Linked DNA regions of Homo sapiens: region 2 is linked to region 1. The links are contacts of gene promoters, found by promoter capture Hi-C in blood cells and fetal thymus (Javierre and others, 2016). All regions are on one chromosome and are shown on one strand. The core of a region is centred on a gene start or on the middle of the fragment in contact, and the rest is flanking DNA. Distances in the headings are between cores, read along the strand shown.

The links. The method cuts DNA at HindIII sites, captures the fragments that hold promoters and counts their contacts. A CHiCAGO score of 5 or more calls a contact.
Region 2: a fragment that was not itself captured here is called in contact with the fragment with the promoter of RFT1 in region 1 in 12 of 17 cell types (M1 macrophages, M0 macrophages, megakaryocytes and 9 more); the score reaches 14.2 in M1 macrophages.

The regions. Positions count from the first base shown.
Region 1 is chr3:53,128,207-53,134,434 of GRCh38, forward strand. It overlaps RFT1 (RFT1 glycolipid translocator homolog), which reads right to left and starts at 2,229. Exons shown (of 13, transcript NM_052859.4): 1 at 2,132-2,229. The coding sequence starts at 2,194. RefSeq lists enhancers at 2,085-2,274, 2,285-2,334, 2,375-2,574, 2,585-2,634. The HindIII fragment of the contact is 8,425 bases long and covers 1-5,359 here.
Region 2 is chr3:53,166,426-53,172,653 of GRCh38, forward strand. The region is part of intron 2 of PRKCD (protein kinase C delta); the gene reads left to right. Among named protein-coding and RNA genes, the nearest start is that of PRKCD, 8.3 kb to the left of the region's middle. RefSeq lists enhancers at 984-1,093, 1,104-1,173, 1,289-1,969, 1,970-2,650 and a silencer at 3,847-3,896. The HindIII fragment of the contact is 164 bases long and covers 3,067-3,230 here.

The DNA.
Region 1 (6,228 bases), core at 979-3,478:
AGAATCTCTTGGGCCCGGGAGGCGGATGTTGCAGTGAGCCGAGATAGTGCCACTGCACTCCAGCCTGAGCAACAGAGTGAGACTCCATCTCGAAAACAAAAAACAAAACACCATGTGTACATACTTATGTTAACCTCAAAGTTACCACTGTCTAAGAAACTTAATGTTCCAGGCCATATCCATGTCTCCTAATTGGTTTGAATAAAGGTTGCAGCTAATGAAACTGAGGTTGCTTACGCCACCCAGTATTTGCCACACACTGCAGTCCTTATTAGCAACACAGCCTTCATTTACTTCTGCAAAGAACTTTACAGCTTTTGTTTTAAGACAGGGTCTCACTCTGTTGCTCAGGCTGGAGTGCAGTGGCATAATCACAGCTCACTGAGGCCTCAACCTCACAGACTCGAGATCATCCCACCTCAGCCTCCTGAGTAGCTGGGACTACAGGTGCATGCCACCACGCCCATCTAATTTTTGTATTTTTTGTAAAGACAAGGTTTCACCATGTTGCCCAGGCTGGTCTTCAACTCCTGAGCTCAAGCAATCCTCCTGCCTTGGCCTCCCAAAGTGCTGGGATGACAGGCATGAGCCACCGCGTCCAGCCAACTTTACAGTTTTAACAAAAAGGCTCTCTCACATCTGTTAAATTATTTGACACTAAAAACAACGAGGTAAATGCACAGGAAGCAAGACTGAGGGTTAAGTGATTTCCTCACTGTCACACGGCAAGTAAATGACCCAGCTTGACCTTACAGGTAAGCCACCTGACTCGTAGTCCAGTGTGTTTTCCGTTATAACTTGTTTTCGTTTTATGAAGCCTATCTGAGTAGTAAGATATTATCAAAGGCTGAAAAAAAACCAACATTGTGGATAAAACAATAAACTCAGTTATTTATGTAGTGAAACAGAAAAAAAAAATCCCTAGGTAAACTTAGAATGGCTAACATTTACTAAGCACATATCACGTGCAAGGCACTCTTCAACATGCTTTCCATAGGTTATCTCATTTCATTCCTACATTGACTATTTTAAAAATACTTATTACCCTAATAAAAATAGCTACATTTATTAAGTACTTGTAGTGTGCCAGGCACTTAAGAGGCATGATTTCATCTAATCTTCCTAATGACCCTGTGAGGTTGCACTATGATTCTCATTTAAGATGAAGAAACTGATACAGAAGTCATCGGATTTATCCCGAAGGCAGGCATCTAGCAAGTGACAAGGCCCAAACTCAAGCCCCATTCTGCTTGGTTCTTTCTTCTGCCCTCCATGTGCCTCTCTAAGATAAGGGGTAGGGTAGATTCGGGACTTGTGTGAAGTAGGGTTGATTGGCTCAAGAGTGAGACAGAGAGATACTGAGCCACTTGACTTAAGAGGTTCAGCTCCTGGGGTTGAAAGAATCTTCAGATACCATTTGGACTAACTGGCCTGTATCATACCTGACAGATGACAAAAATTAGGGCCAAGAAGGGAAGTGACTTGTCCAAGATCACATAAACAGAAGATGCAGCCAACATGTATTAAATGCATACTAAGAGCCGGGTACTGTGTTAAGTACGTTTATTTGAATGATCCCAATCAATCCCTGCTTATGAGCTAAGTACGACATATTATTACCCCCATTTTACTAGTGAGGAACTCAGGCTCTGCAGGTGAAGTCACTTGTCCTGGGTCACGGAGCAATCCAAGCCTAACTCCAGATTTCTCTTCTTAGCTATGCCATATGGACTCTCGGAACTCAGTGGGACTCAAAGTTTGAGGAAGGTGTTTGATGAAGGAAATGAACCCCTTGCCTGAAAAATATCAGATTCTCGAGCACGAAATACCAGTCCCTCACCCCCGCCACCTGATCTAATTCACTCCTACTGCCATATGGGAAATAGAATGCTCAGAAGGAAAGCGGCTTGTCTGCAGTCACCCGGCCTAGACTCTAAAGGCAGGCTCCTATCTCCGGGCCAGGGTCCCCCCTCATCAATGCCACCGTCTCCGGTCGACCCCCCCACCCCCTCCATTGCGGGGTCCACCTCGGGACTGGGTCGGCCCTGGGGCAGGCTCTCAAGGGCCCAAGGGCTGCCATCCCGCGAATCCCGGCTGCAGTACAAGCTGGAACCTGAAGGGCAGAGAGTACCTGCAGGAGGAGACCGGAGGAGGCCAGCCGGGCCGCGTGGCCCAGCACCTCCTGGCTGCCCATAGCCTCCGCGCCAGGCTCAGACACCAGGAAATGCCGCCGCCACTCCGTTTAGTCGCGATAAGATGGCGTCACGGCGCGCCTCGCTGTCTGATTGATGGCCTTGAGAGAGGGGGGCGGGGCACGAGAAGTTCTGGTCCTTTAAGTGGGCCTGTCTCGGGCCGTCTGTTATGGCGCCTGGCTCTTTCTATTTCGGTAGGTTTTGCGCTGTCTGTCGCTTGTGCGCTGTCTGTCCCTCTCTTCCCCGTATAAACGAAATAGTGTGGCGAGTACTAAGAGATACCGTTAAAGAATCCAAAGTTCCTTCTCTGAGGCTTTCAGCCACCAACCAAGAAGCACTAACTTTCCTGGCCTCATCTGCCAAAAGGGGAACAAACTTCTCACTGGCCCGTTAAGAAGATTCTCACCATTGACCTTTGCTTACAGAATCACAGCCACAGACCCTCTGAATTAGGCTGGACAGGAATTGTCCTCATTTAACAGAGAAAGAACTGAGGACCAGAAGTTAGATATAGCACTGTTATGTGTATGGTTTTGTGAAATCCTTCCGAAAGCTCTGAGAATTGGCCCCTGTGGTTAGAGATGAGTAAAGCCTTGGAGATGGGAAGTGACTTGTTCGAATCTACACAACTTGTTTCCTGACTAAGTGGATACCAGGCTCCTGATCCTAAACTTATCACTCTTGCCTGTATGCTAGAAATTGTGAGGGCAGAGTGGAAGAAGGACTGGAAGTGCTTTGTAAAAAAATGTAAAGCGCCCAACATACACAATCAGCTGCTGTTCTGTCAGTGTTCTTATTATCTACCAAGCAGGCTGTAGGAAGCCCAGTCTTTCCCCAATCTCTTTCAGTCCTCACATGATTTGGCCCCAACCTATCTTCTACTACCTTTCACACGATCATTGCCCTTCCCAACACTATCTAGGCCATAGCCATTCCGAGTCCTTACTGGTCCTCAAACAGGCGGTGACTCACTGGCCTTTGCTCCTCCACCCTCTTTGTCCAAAGTGTCTTCCCTGACAGCACCCCTTGCCCTCCTAGACCACACTGTCCTGACTTTCCTGGCCAACCACAGCTGGTACCTGCTGTGGACTAAATGTTTGTGTACCCTCAAAATTCATATGTTGAAGCCTAATCCCCAGTGTGATAGTATTAGGAGGTAAGGCCTTTGGGAAGTAATTAGGTCCTGAAAGTGGAGCCGTCATAATGGGATTCATGTCCTTATAAAAAGAGATGTCAGAAAAATGATCTCTGTGTTTACTATTTGAGGATACAGCAAGAATGTAGCTGTCTGCAACCACGAAGAAGGCTTTGTAAAATGTAAGGCGCCCAACATACACTTAACAGGAACCAAACTGGCTAGCACCTTGATCTTGGGCTTCCAGCCTCCAGAGCTGTGAGAGAAATTTCTGTTTTTGACTTACCCAGTCTATGGTATTTTGTTACAGCAGCCCAAGCAAATCAAGACAGTACCCCTAAAATACTCTGTACCCCTTTATAGTTCCTAATGCAATCTGCATTATAGCAGAAAGACTAGAATATGTGTCTCTATATAATCAGCCCATGAGCTCCAAGAGGGCAGAAGTGCAGCCTGCCTGGTTTTGCTTCCTGAAGTAGCGGTACAGAACATTCTTAGGGCTCCTATAAATGTCTCCTGACACATGACTGCTGCTACTGCTGCTGGAAACAGACTGTGGAACTCAAAGCCTATCACTCCCATCTTCCCAGGTGAAATGAGCTCTGTCTTAGTGTGGAGGCCCAGAATGTGAGCTTTTCTTTTTCTTTTCTTTTCTTTTCTTTTCTTTTCTTTTTTTTTTTTGAGACAGGGTCTCGCTCTGTCTCCCAGGCTAGGGTGCAGTGGTACAGTCTTGGTTCACTGCCGCTTCCACCTCCTGGCCTCAGGTAATCCTCCCACCTCAGCCTTCCGATTAGCTGGGACTACAGGCGTGCAGCACCAGACCTGGCTGATTTTTTCTGTGATTTTTGTAGAGATGGGTTTTTCCCACGTTGCTCAGGCTGGTCTCCAACTCCTGGACTCAAGTGATCCGCCCACCTCAGCTTCTCAAAGTGCCGAGATTACAGGCATGAGCCACCGCACTGCACCCTGCCCAAGAATGTGAGCTTTTGTCTGTCAGAGAGAACTGACCTTGAATCCTCATTCTGCCACTCACTGACTGGGTGACCTCAGTATGCTCAGCTACTAAATAGGGATATTATCTGTCCTGTAAAAATAGTCATAAGGATTGTTTCAGGCAAGTCTGGCCCTCAGAGAGCTTAAATTCTAGTGAAAGGGAAACTGAAAAAAACTCTAACAAACAAATAAAATTTCACATAGGGCTAAGTGCTACGAAAGAATGAAACCAGGTAAGATCCTAGAGGCTTTGGAAGAGAGAGAGGGGTGCTGTTTTAGGATGAGTGAGTTGGGCACCCACCTGGGGAGGAGTGTACTTGGAGAATAGAGAAAGTGCTGGAGGGTCCAGGTATTTGGCATAATGGCTGAGATGCTAAAGACCTTGACCTGGGCAGCCTTCCCACCCCCCTGGACTGTGGGCCAGCAGGTGAGACAGCCTCCCACTTCCTTTATTCCCAGCCAAGCAGTCTCCTCCTCTACAGCTCATCCCCAGAGTAGAACCAGCCAAGAGTTCATCATGTGCACACACTCCTAAGCCTGGCATCCATGTAAGCTGCTTTGGGAGGGAAGAAGTGATCATTTTGCTAGGAGCAAAGAAGTCAAAGGGGAAATGCTCCAAGCTAAGTCTAAAGGGCAAAGCATTCTAGGACCCCAAGGTATGGACTCTGTGGGGCTCCTGGGTGAGGAATCCAGGGACTTTTTCTCTTATTCTGGAAGTTAACACTTGGCAAGGAGGGACTGAGCAGAGCCCAGAGCCGTGCTGGGTTCTGGGGTGGGTGGGGAAAAAGGAACTGTGAGGAGAATCCACAAACATTGACCACTGACTCCATGTCAGGCACCTGTCTGAGCACTCTACATGCGTGTACTCCATCCTGTCAATAACCTATGAGAGAGGGACTGCAGATCAGGAAACTGAAGCACAGGGATGTGACGTAACTCATCCAAGGTCATTCAGCAAAGGAATGGTCAAGGAGGTATTTGAACTCGGGTCCCTTCTGATTCCAAATGCGTGAACAGTAATGTTCCTCCCTTCAAAAAAAGCTTCTGATTGTAAAGGAGACCTAAGAGTCCCTATATGTAAGCCACAGAGAACATATGTGGCATTGAGAGAGTGGAGTCTGGGAGGGCTGCAGCAGTCGAGCTGTGGTAGGCTTGGAGGCATTCCCTCTCCCCAGTGAGGATCTCTGAAGGTCTTGACCCTGTTGGAGATACTGGCCTGCACGCTCCACTGGGAGTTGCATACTCCATGGTCTTGCCCATGGAGGACTCAGCTCAGGGCTGGCAAGTAATGGCCCACTGGACGTTGCATTTTGTATGGCCTACAAGCTAAGAATAGTTTTTACATTTGTAAATGGTTGGAAAAAAATCAAAAGAATATTTCATGACACATGAAAATGGTATAAAATTCAAATTTCAGTGTCCACCAGGTACAGTGGCTCACGGCTGTTATCCCAGCACTTTGGGAGGCCAAGGTGAGTGGATTGCTTGAGGTCAGGAGCTCAAGACCAGCTTGGGCAACATGGTGAAACTCCATCTCTACAAAAAAATACAAAAATTAGCCAGGCATGGTGGTGCGTGCCTGTAGACCCAACTACTGAGGAGGCTGAGGTGGGAGGATCATTTGAGTTTGGAGAGATCAAGGCTGCAGTGAGCTATGATCATGCCACTGCACTCCAGCCTGGGCAACAGGGTGAGACTCTTGTCTCAAAAAAAAAAAAAAAATTCAGTGTCCACAAATAATGTTTCATTGGAACATAGCACACGTACCCGTTTGTTTACATATTATCAATAGCTACTTTCTTGCTACAACAGCAGAATAGGTTGGTCCACAAAGCTGAAAATATTTGCTAGATGGCCCTTTACAGAAAAACTTTGCCAATTCCTGGTGATCACCATTGAGCACCTGGG
Region 2 (6,228 bases), core at 1,899-4,398, 39 kb after region 1:
AGCTGCACAGACATATGCGTGCTCACACAGGGATATGGCAAGCTAGGCTGCAGTGGGCATGCACACCCACAGACTCATGAGTTCCTGTACGTGCACCACACATGTGGGCATGCAGGTACACAGGTGCTCACATGCAGCCACCCATGGCACACTCACACACACACAGATGCTCTCCCAGTTACCGTTGGCATCCATGCACTCAAATGCCTGCCCACACATACCGCACTGTGCCCATTCTGGGGTCAGGAAGGGGTCCCTGGTCAGAGTTACAGCCCAGTCAGGTCGCCTGCATCTGGCACCTGAGGGGCAAGTTCCAGGTGTGGCTGTGATCTCAGTAAGGGGGGCTGGGCCACCCTGGTAGGTGGGCTCTGCCCATGCATTCAGCAGCCACCCTGCCCACCTGGCCCCAGGCTCCAGGCCGACCAGGGATTGGCATGGGAGATGGGAGGCATGAATGCGGGGGAGAGGCTGTGTCAGCTGTGCCAGCACTGTGTGCCTGCTGCTACAGCAGAGGAAGTAGGCTGTCTGGCCATGGGGCCAAGGTGCTCACAGTGGGTGGGGGTCCTATCAACTCCTGTGTCCCCCACGGTGTCCATGCCTAGAGGGAGTGGAGTTGCTGGGCTCTAGGGACTGAGAGGTTGGCAGGGGCTGTCTGTTCACTTCCCAAAGCCTGGGCCTAGGAGAGAGGCCCATCTGTTCAAGGCGTTTCCGGAGGCTTACTTCCTCTGAGCTGCCCAGGAAGTGGTTTTGGAGTGGGACTGACCAGCCCTCTGTCAGTGGCTCTACGCCTTGCTCCGCCCCTGCCTTGCCTGCCCAGGGGAGCAGCGTCTGGCCACCGGGTTAGGCTGACTGACCAGGCTTTTCACTGCCAGGGCTGCCCAGGCCTTTTTGGGGGGCTCTAGGAGAAGGGCAGGGGGCAGGTCACGAAGTCCCCTGCAGTCCCCACAACCGTGGCTCCTTTCTTGCTCTGAGCCTGTAAGCCGAGGCTCAAGAGCATCAACTCTGGTAGGCATGGCCCCCTTGAGAGAGGTGATGGCTGGGCTGCATCTTAGTGACTAGGCAGCTCCCAGCAGCTCTATGAATGAACCTGGGCAAGTGGCTCTGCCGCTCAGTGCCTCAGTCTCCCCCTGACAGATGAGATAATGATAGCATCCATCTTGATGAGGTTGTGCGGAAATGACAGATAACATATGCAAAGTAGCTGGCATCGTGCTTAGTGCATTGTCAGAGTTGAATGAGTAGAAACTGTAGTTATGTAAAGCATTTAGAGCCCAGTTCATGGGAACTATTCAAAAAATAGCAAGTGGGACTGATGAGGGGGTATTATTATCTGATGGGCTGGGCACTGGCCCAGTGTTACATGGCCAGGTGGCTGTGGAGCCTGGCTGAGGAGCCAGGTCTCTGACTCCCTCATCCCCCTCAATTCTACCTCCAGTGGCAGTGCCCTACTTGTTCAGTAGGTTCCATGCCCTCCGAGGAGAGGAGCTCCTGTTGGAGCAGCTCCACCCACTCAGCAGTCCAGCCCCTGCCTGCTCTTCTCCCCCTCACTCCCTTTCAAAGGGAGAAAATAGATCTCGTGACAAATGGATGCAGGGAGGGGAAAGGCAGTCTGCAGCTGCCTGCTGCCCCCTCAGGGCTCCCCTTGGCCCTCTCCAGCTCTGGCCTCCTGCAGGACATTAGGCTGGGAGAATTGGCTGGGAACGAGGGGGTGGACGTAAGCCCTCCTGCCAGCCTGCTTACCCTTCAGACCCCTGGAGTCAGCCTGTGGGCTGGGGCAGGGAGTGGGCATCTGGGACTGATGGAAGCTAGAAGAGTAGGGGGAGCTAGAAAACCCCCTACACCCATGGCAGCTGGGGGCAGGGCCCAGCCTGTCCCAGGGACACGAAGAAGGTCAGCACAGTTAGGGTTGGGCTAAGCATTGGCCTTCACTGTGTGGGGCCCAGAGGCTGGGGATGAGGAGTGTTGAGGAGTGGTAAGGACAGTGATGCAAACAGCAGGGGCCTGAGGGCTGGAGAGCGAAAGGTGGATGGGCCTGGGCGGGAAGTGTGGTTGAGGGTATCCTGAAGGCTTAGGAGCAGGACTTCTGCAGGCATCAGACAGACCCTGGTTGAATCCTTGCTCAATATTTACTGGCTGTGCACACTTGAGCCAGGGACTGGACCGTTCCCCACTTGCCTCGTCTGTGAAATGGGCAGATCACGGGGTGTGGTGTCCTGTGAGACATGAACGATGGGAAGGAGCCACTGTGTGGGGTGGGGTGGAGCAGGAAGACGGAACAGCAAGCCCAGAGGCTCCTAAGCGGGAAGGAACTGGCTGCTTCGGGAACTGAAAGGGGTCAGCGTGGCTGGGGCACAGGAATGAGGGAAAGGCAGCGCCTGCCCGAGAGGTCAGGGAGGTAACGGTGATGGGGAGGGGGGTGGCGGGGGGCAGGCTGCATGGAGCAGGCTGAGGGGAGGAGTCTGGGCTTGTCAGAGGGGCAATGGGAGGCACTGGGGGCTTGGGCAGGGGGTGACAAAATCTGTCTGAAAAGCCCCGTCTGGTGGCTGGAACAGGGGGACTGTCGGGCCGGGGTAGAGGATGGAGAGCAGTCAGAAGACAGGTGCAGAGCCTGGGGATGGTGGTGGTGGGAGAAGAGGATTTGAGACTTGAGGACAGGCTGCAGCGGCAGACGGGATGGCCTTATTGTGTGGGGAGCAGGGGGAGCTGTCTGGCCTGAGCCACTGCCTGAGCTCGTGCACTCCTAGTGGATGAGGAGCGCTGGGAGGGGAACGGCGGGGGACTGGTGTGGGCAGGCTTGAGCTCTTCTGGAGTCATTCATGTGGTGAAGCCAGGGAGGCAGGTGGGGCCACAAGCCTGAAGTTCAGGAGGGTCTGGGCCCAAAGTAGAGACGGGAGCCTAAAGCCAGGATTGGGGAGGAGAGGGCTCAACAGGCCTTCTAAGGGGTGGGGGAGCATTTGAGAGGCCCACGAACAGGACTGGGATGGCTGTCCCTCAAAGGTCTCTGCCAAGGCACCCAGGAGGGCAGGCTTGTGGTGGCTGAGCCGCTGTTTTCACAACAGCTCCGGAAGCTTTGGATCATGTCTATGGCCGTGTTGGGTAAACAGGCAGAGCAGAGCAGGCAGTCGCCAAGGCCTGAGGCTAGATCAGATGTCTGCGTGGTGTAGGTTGTGGGCTGGGGTTGTTGGGGTGGGAGGAGGATCCCAGGGTCCTCCAGTGTCAGGGCTGGAGAAAGCTTAGAGGTCTCCATTGTTGAGACAGGGAGGCTGGAGCCCCGGGAGGGGCAGTAGCTGGCCAGCCTCTGCCAGTGGACTCATGCTGCCTGCTTCAGCCCAGTTCTGCCCAGAGCCTCAGGCCAGAACAGGGCACCCTGCGGCTGGGGGGCTTAACAGAGCCTCTTTTCCCACTTTCCAAGGAAGTCTGGAAGACACCAGAGCACTTGGGCCAAGATCGCGGAGCACCCAGGCAGCAGATCTGAGCTAGGCCTGTCTAGGTCCAAGCTCGCCGGTTCCTCTGTCCGCTGCCTGCTGTGGGATGGCGCACCATGCGGGATGGTCCTGCCTCTCTCCCAGCTTTCTCAATATCCCCAAAGTGGGGAAGCATCATGTGGATCCTGCCCAGATCCTGGGGATGACTGGCAAAAGGGTTAGGTGGCCATCTTGCCTTCTCCCAAACACAAAACGATTGTTTCCAATGGTAAACCATCTGGAAAATCGTGGGAACTCTGTGGGAGAAAGAAGGGCTAAGGAGTAGGGCTCTTGTACTGGGGGCTGATGGAGGAGCTGTTCCCATCTCCAAACACATACCCTCACCCCATTGGAGGCCAGATGGGCAGTTCTAGGACTAGAGCTGGAAGTTCTCTCCCCACTTCCCCCTGGGTCTGCCCCATTGGCTTTGTGGCTTTGGTTGAATTGCTCAACCTCTCTTTCGGTTTCTGCACAGTGAGCCTGGAGCTCAAGGAACTTGCTCCTGGGGTGCCCGGCTTGCTGCCCTACCAACATAGGTTCAAGCCCTCCCCTCCCCCTGCGCGCCAGGCCTGTGACTGCCACCTGTGACCTTCAACCTCCACCATAGCCTCAGGGCCCTGCAGGCAGGTGGGCGGGCGGGCGGAGGCCTGCCCAGTGATGTGCCTGACCAGCCCACTCCTTCCCTTACACACTTTAGACTTTGCTCTGGATCAAGAGGGACTTTCTTCGTCTCCCTGGGTGGAAAGGCCCAGCCTAGCCTGACACCAGCTGCCCTTCTGCCCCTCCTCCATTCCCCAGCCATTGTGCCTGGGGGCTGTGGTGGAAAAAGCTGCATTTGGACTTCATGGTGCCAGACTCTAGTCAGGGATGTGGGGTCCTTCCAGGACTGTATGTTTGTTTCTGTGTCTGCCTGGAGCATCTCTGTGCCAGTGTGTACATCACAGCTTGTGGCACTCCACGTGCGTGTGGAGCCTATGTGGTCGGGTGTGGTCTGTGTGGGCCCGGGTATCTGTTGAGATGTGAGAGCCGGTGAGTGCATGTGTGTTTCTGTGTGTGTGTGTGTGTGTGTGTACGTGTGCCCCTGTGTCATCACAGCAGTGTGTGTACGTACCTGTGGCTCCAACTGTGTGCGTGTGTGTCTAATGTCGAGTGGGGCTCCCTATGTGCTGTTTGGGTTGGCGAGTGTGCCTGTGTGCACACGTGTGGTTATTCGTGGAGAGGCCCGGCTGCATCCCCCACCCTGGCTCCTCACAGAGGCCCCTTGTCCTCACAGGATCTGGCTCTCTGGCTCCTGCCATGAAGGGGCCTTTGTTCCTCTCTCAGGGGTACCTGGGGCACCGCCCTCTGACTGAGCCCAGGACTCCTCATATCCTAGGGCTGGCTGGTGACTCGAGGCCTGTGCCTGGTGGCCTCCCTCCAAGGAGGCCCTACCCCACACAAGCTGGCAGAGGTGGATGTGAGCCGATGACAGCCAGGCTCCCAAGTCCTGCCCCTCTGAACCTTCCAGACCCTCTGGCAGGGCAGGCCATTATGCTCCTGCTGACCCCTCAGATCGAAGGCCCCCAGCCAACAGGTCCCTGCAGCCTCCGTTCTCCTCCAGCCCCCCTCACTCCCTGCTACTCACTGCCTGCGTGGCGCATCCTACAGAGGTCTTACCATCCTTTGTAATCACATATTTATGTGACTGGCTCCCACCAGGCTGTAAGTTCCATGGGCCTGGTGTGGCAGAGGTTACCAGTGGGAAAGCAGCTAGCTTCCTGAGAGGTGGGAAGGGTCCCCCAGGGCCAGCCTTCTGAGCTGCCTGGAAGGATCTGTGGGAATTCAGAAGGCTGTTCCAGCTGAGGGAACAACATCTGCAAAAATATGGGGGCTGGGAAATGAGACATATGTTCACAGAGTAGCCAGAACAGGGATTGAGGTAGAGAGCAGGACAGGGCCAGGGAGTGGGCAGTCTGGAAGGCCTGGAGAGGTCTGGGCTTTCTCCAGGGGCAGTGAGAGCCTAGGAGGTTCCCAGCTGTGGGAAGAATGGGTAGGGGAGGGACCAGAGATGGTGACAACCGGGAGGGAGCTGGGTAAGGGGAGGAGAGGCCACAGGTACTGGTTGGTCTGTGTGGGGTGAGGGAGGGGCCCAGGAGGAGCGCTGGCTGGGGGATGAGGTACCTGTCCTGGGAGGAGCAGGTATGGGGAGCATCCCTGCTCTGGGACTTGGCTGTGACCTGAGTCCATAGATCTGGTTCTTATCTCAGCACAGGGCTGGGCATGTGGAGGCTGGGGGATGGGCCCTGGTGGAGGAACCCTAAAGGGTCTTGCTAGCCTTTCCCCTCCCACCTCCTGTTCCTCTTGCTGAGCCCACTTCCTGGGTTGTGAAACCTGCATGGCCTCCTTGCCTTGTTTCCGCTGGGAAGGCCATCTAGGCAGCCAGCCTCCCAGCCCAGCTACCACCCACCTGCCTACCCAACCTGGCAGCTCCACCATGCCCGGCCCCCTTGCCCTGCCGTGACTGCCGGTACCAGTCCTGCACCCTCCTGCTGATCACACTTCCTCTCACTGTCCTTTCTGCCCCTGCCTGGGCCTTGGTCTCCTCCGCCCTCCTTTATTCATCCACAAGGCTCTGGCAGGCTACACTGTGGACTCCCCCAGGCAGAGTCTGCATCCTTAGGAGGGCCCTCACTTTGTGCCACCTGCCATGCAGTTGTGACTTCCGTGGCAGGTGTCAGGTGTGTGGGGGAGAAGGCTGCAGTAGGTGGCATGGGGGACATCCCCT